Regions from separate parts of the Homo sapiens genome. Here region 1 is linked to region 2. Evidence: promoter capture Hi-C in human tissues and cell types (Jung and others, 2019). All regions are on one chromosome and are shown on one strand. The core of a region is centred on a gene start or on the middle of the fragment in contact, and the rest is flanking DNA. Distances in the headings are between cores, read along the strand shown. Region 1 has its middle 48 kb from the start of GPAM. Region 2 holds the start of BBIP1 (BBSome interacting protein 1).

The links. The method cuts DNA at HindIII sites, captures the fragments that hold promoters and counts their contacts. A contact is called where the count stands out against the background at its distance.
Region 1: a contact is called between a fragment that was not itself captured here and the fragment with the promoter of BBIP1 in region 2, in 1 of the 25 tissues and cell types used here (dorsolateral prefrontal cortex).

Annotation. Positions count from the first base shown.
Region 1 is chr10:112,134,214-112,136,913 of GRCh38, reverse strand. No RefSeq gene overlaps it. Among named protein-coding and RNA genes, the nearest start is that of GPAM, 48 kb to the left of the region's middle. The HindIII fragment of the contact is 3,996 bases long and covers 1-2,700 here.
Region 2 is chr10:110,917,843-110,920,591 of GRCh38, reverse strand. BBIP1 (BBSome interacting protein 1) reads left to right here and starts at 1,412. Exons shown (of 4, transcript NM_001195305.3): 1 at 1,412-1,471; 2 at 2,379-2,471. The coding sequence starts at 2,435. SHOC2 (SHOC2 leucine rich repeat scaffold protein) reads right to left here and starts at 988. Exons shown (of 9, transcript NM_007373.4): 1 at 935-988. RefSeq lists silencers at 529-618, 629-1,068, 1,919-2,078 and enhancers at 1,289-1,338, 1,359-1,558, 1,248-1,787. The HindIII fragment of the contact is 6,231 bases long and covers 1-2,749 here.

The DNA of each region.
Region 1 (2,700 bases), core at 40-2,539, 1.2 Mb before region 2:
CTTGGAAGCTTGGGGAAGCATTCAGACAGGCACAGAGGAGCCACATTAAACAAGGGTTTGGCCCAGTAGCCACCTGGGCTGCCAGTGTTCTAGAACTAGGAAACCAACCCAGGAAGCTGGCTCTGCTCCTGGCCCCCAAAGCCCTTTCCTCTAGGCTGTTCTAGGCCAAGGAACGGAGGGGAAATGTTTTCCTTATTCCATTCTGGCCTTTAGCTGTGGTATCGCCTGCCAAGCTCTCTGGAGGATCCAGGGGGACCGGCCATCAGATCCCCCCAAACAGCTGTGCTCTTCTGTCCAGACACTGTTCAGCCACAGCCTTGGGCTGGGCCTTTCCTCTGTGTCCTGGGCCGAGGACCCAGAGCTGCTGGGGGCCTGTGTGCCCCACAGGATCCATGAAGGTCTCCACAGCTGCAGGTGCAGGTGTCATAATCTGCATAAGTTGCAGTTCATGTGATTGTCACCGCCAGAATCTCTGAATATTGCTCACCTGGGTATGGAGCTGCCCGAAGTTCTTGTGTGGGTTTTCAGCCATACTTACATGGGTTATAGGCATGCTGGACCATTGGTAAAATCACATTGGCAGGCTGTGTTTTCTTCTCCCAGCTGTTAAAGCTGCAATTCTGGCAGTCAGAAGACGTCGCTTACTTGGTGGTTTCTAGCAGCCAATTCCCCTGTCTGAAAAGGATCCCTCATGGGGTTTGTTGTGTTATGGGCTTGTCTGAAATGTTAACCTATTTGTTCTTAAATGTCATCGGTGAGTGATTTTTATCACAATGAGAGTCTCATTGATGAAAGTCGTTGAGAGCCCGAGGACTTTGTGCAGAGTCTCTGTGGACCACGAGGGAATCTAGCAGAGAGGGGAGGTGGGTGGGTTGGATGTGGTGGTGCCTTTCAAGCTGAGGCCATGGGAGCTGCTTCGGGCTGGCCATTTGGGCAGTTCCCTTCAGTACAGGCCTCACCCCCAAGCAATGTTGTGTTACAAAGGCAGGTTCACCTGAAACTGGGAGGCAATGGGCAATGGTCAGATTTCCATCCATTTCCTGTCACAGCATGGCCATCAGGAAGAGTGACTTAAGAGGCTCAGAGAGGTTGAGATTCTTGCTCAGGACCACACAGCAAAGCAGAGACAGAGTAATGCTGAGAAGGCAGATTTCTGCATCGTATCTTTTGGACTTCTTTCAGCAAAGTGGGACCCTGAAAAGCCAGGGATGCAGAGTTCATTCATTTGGTTGGTCAAATAGTACTTACTGAGTGCTTACGGCATGCTAGGTGCCGAGGACAGCTCAGTCTAATGGGGGATGCCCCTGCAGAGTGTCAGGATGATCCTGGGGAGACGCCCACTTCAGCCGAGTTGGGTATCAAGCAAGCTTCTTGGAAGAAGCAAAAAATACCTGCGCCCTGTTGGAGGATAATCAATTAATTTGATGCTCCTTTGAGACTGTCCCAAGAGAAACAGAGAGTAAACACTCATAAACAAATAGCAGAAATAATGAACAGGGATGGAGTTCTTGCTAGACACTACTCCCTGCAGGCAGGAGCCCCTACCCGTGGGGACACTGAGGCTCAGGGAAGCCAGGAATGGTTGGGAGGGCCCCAGCCGGTCAGTGGTGGAGCTGGGAGTCCCCTCGGTAGAGTTTTTTTTTTTTTTTTAAACTTCTGTTCATCATGGAAAATTCCAAACATGTACAAAAGTGGAGAGAACAACAAAGTACCATGATCCCAACATCCATCTTCAACATTTGCCAACTTAGGGCCAATTTCATTCTGTCCATACCCTCTCCACTCTCCCACTACTGGAGTATTTCATAGTAAATCTCTGACATCATCTCATTTCATCCGTAAGTATTTCAGCAGGCAGCTCTAAAGGATAATGACTCTTTAAAAAAAAAACCTAGTCACAATCTCATTATCACACCTAAACACATCAACAGTAATTCCAGTCAGTGTTCAATGATCAATTGCCTCAATTTTCTTTTCTTTTCTTTTTTTTTTTTTACCAGTTGGTTTGTTCAACTCAGGATCCAAATAAAATCCACACATTGCATGCAATTTCATTTGAACTGTAGTTTTTCTCTCTCTTTCTTTCCTTACAATGTAATTGTTTACACAATGTGGTCATCTCTTCTATGGTTTCCATACCTCACATTTGCTGTTTGTATCCCTGGGGCCCTGTTTAGCATGTTCCTCTGTCCCCCGTATTTCCTGTAACCTAGAACTTGAATCGGGAGGCTTGAGCAGATTCAGGTTTGAGTTTTTGTAGTGCCAGTGTGTTGAAGCACAGATCACAGGCAGCCTGCTGAGCTCTGTGTGTGTGTGTGTGTGTGTGCCAGTGTGCCTGTGTGTGTGTGCACACATGTGTATGTGCCTTTGGGCTTTTCTCTTCTCCCTTGGCCACTTCTCAGAAACCACTGCTTTCCACTCTCTGGTAGTCACAGGCTCCTCTTAAGGTTACAAAACTGCTTCAAGGCTGCTTGTCAAAGAGCAGGCAAGGAGCAAAGAGCAAGTATTTCTCCTTGTCAAAGCTTCAAAGAAGCCTTCAGCACAGACAGAATTTCTTTTAATGTCTGCACTTCAGTTTCCTCCTGCTGCCTCCTTCTGTTGCCCATATTTTGACTTTGGGTCTTTTCTGTCAGGATCTTTAACAGGTCTGAGGATCCAGCATTCTCCTCCCTCTCCCTTCTGTTTTTCAGCCCCGATTTA
Region 2 (2,749 bases), core at 163-2,662:
TCCATAATTCCACAATAACACAAACTGCCTGCTTAAAGAAAGGAAGGAAGAAAAGAAAAAGAAAGAAAAGAAATAAAGAGAAAGGCAAGTTAATGCTTTGGAGTCATTACTCTTCCACCTAGGCATGGGGGGAGGGGGATGGTACAAAAACAATGGATATTGAGGTGCTGGGGGAAAAATCGTCTTGCCCCAAAGCCTCTTGTGTTATGAGCCTGGGGAAGTCGGGGAAGAGTGAGACTACTTTTCCTCTCTCCCTAAAAGCTGTGCTATCACGGGGAGAGGTTGCCATCGGGCATGTTCTACGAGGCGGTCTCGAAGGGCTACAACTCGCTTCGCTAGGCAACACACCCAGAGCCGATCCAGCACTCTTCACTCAAGGGTTTTTAGGGAGAGGAGAACGGGAGAGCAAGGTGGACTCCAGGGAGGGGGCGAGAAGAGACCCCACCCTGTATGACCGCCGCTGCGCCCGGGCCCTCGCCAACGATTTACACGACTCGGGGCGCCCTGCGGACTGGGCCCGGGGGCCCAGGGAGCCGAGAGGAGAGAGACTGTCCGCCGGGGGCCCCCGGCCCGCGCCCTCGCGCCGGCTCGCCGTCGCCCAGGCGCTGTCCGGGCCGCCCGCCGCCGCCGCCGCAGGCCCGGCCCCGGCCGCTGTCACACCCGACCGCCTTCCTCTCCGCGCCGGGCTGCAGGCTCCCACGCGAGCCGGCTCCAAGGGCCCCGCACTCCCGGAGACAGCAACCAGGAAAGCGGCGGCGGCGGCGCCTCCCAGGGCCCCGGCCCCTCGGGCCTCGCCCCGGCGCTGCCGGCTCGCGCCTGTCAGGGCGCACGGGGCCTCCCCCTACCGACAGCCAGCCCGACTGCCCGACGGACAGGAAGGCAGGCAGGAAGAACCGACCAACAGACACCCTCCGCCTCATCGGCCCCGAGTTACCGTCAGGAGCCCCGACTCCGCCATCCTCCTCGCTCGCCCTCCTTCCTCCTCTTCCTCCTCCTCCTAAGAAGCGACGCTGCCCAACCGCCGCCCCCCGCCCGCCCCTCCCCCACTCGCCCCGCCCCGCCCGCCCCGCCACTACTCTCGCTCCAGCCTCCCCGCCCCACCCCTCTGCCGTGGGCCCGTCACTCGCTAGGCAAGAAAAATGGGCGGAACCGGGGCAAGAGAAGCTGCCCAATCAGAGACGGGCAGTGCCGCCAGCTTCTCTCTCTCCGCCCTTGTCCTTTCCTCAGTTCCTCTACGCCGTCTCCCGCCCACTGGGCGCCTCTGGCTAGCCGGGCTACAGAGTAAGCCTCCAGCAGGGTAGAGTGACAACTCCCCGATCGGAAGTTACTGTTGAAGCTAAGGCGGCCATAACTGATAATGGCAAAAGGAGATTCCTGGCTTCCTGTTTCCAGGGTGACGTAGATTTTTTTCCTTCGCCAGTCTCACCGTTACCCGGGGCAACAGCTGAGCCGTCTGGGAAGGGATGCATCTGTAAGTAAGCCCAAAGAGGTACCGTGGGTGACCACACATCCCATGTTAGACAAGTTAATTCATACTCCGGATTACACGTCCAGTTTCCTGGCCCTTATTTTACTGAGACGTCTGGTCACTTACGGAGATGGACAACAGTTTAGGGCTCCGAAATTCCCTCTCCTGCCCGGAAGTTGCATTTGGCACTTCCGAATTGGGTCATGGCGGAAGGGTGTTAATAGCCTGGCCGCCCGTGCCCCAGGGAATGCTTATTTTTGACCTTAGTTGCAAAGTGAGGTGAGTCCGTGGACCCCAACCAGTGGGCCGGACCCGGGCCGGACGGTCCCTGTGGGACAGAGCGCTGAAATGGCGAGCGGGGCTCAGGGCCGCTTCCGTTGGAAGGCGGTTTTTTTCCGGGCTGGCCTGGCGGCGGCCCGCCCCCGTGAGGCTCCCTGTGGGGTGAGGCCGCTCTACAGGCCGCCCTAACCCAGCCAGAGGCAGCCCGGCCGGGAGGACCCCAGCGGGGAATGGGCGGGGACCTCGGGGCGGAGCTCCTAACTCCGGCAAAACGGAGCTCTTGACCACGCCTCCGCAAGTTCCTATTAAGTACTTTCACTCCTTGGCCTTTGGAGGGAGGAGAATTCGGGAACTTCAGAAAATCATTTTCCACCTTCACCTATAAAAGGAAAAGATGAGCCCCTACCACCAGGGCAGGACCTCAATCTTTTTCCCCTGCCACCTGCCTTCCCATTCTGATTTTTCCCCCCTTTCCGCGTCTCTCCTTTGAGTCTTTGTAAGCTTTGACTGCGGTTCTGGTGGTGGGATTCCTGCAGGTCTACAGTTTCTTAAACAACGTGTTGAAGATTTTTGAAAATACTGTATTGCTTTTATATGGCCCTTTACAAAGTTATCATACATTATCTTGTAGTTTCTTCTGTATGCTTGAGTCAAGAACTCTAAGTCATCTTGGTAATACCGGGTTGGATGCTTAAAGCTGCAGCAAAAAGACCAGAACTTTCAGGTAAAATTGAAAATGGTTAATATCCAGCCAGTCAACAATACAGATGCAAACCTACCTTCTCGACTTAATTTCTGCTTCCTTAGTACTTACACGCCAGCCAAAATGAACTACTCTTGTTTCTTTGCTGTTAATTACTGAAATCTGTTGTAGCAGTCACCTTTTGTGATTCTGTATCTGATTCTGTTACCCGTGGAGATGTGTTTCCAGATTCTTCCCAGCAGGAAGTAATTTCCTCTGAGTTTAGCATTTTTTGTACATCTTTTATGACAATCAGTATG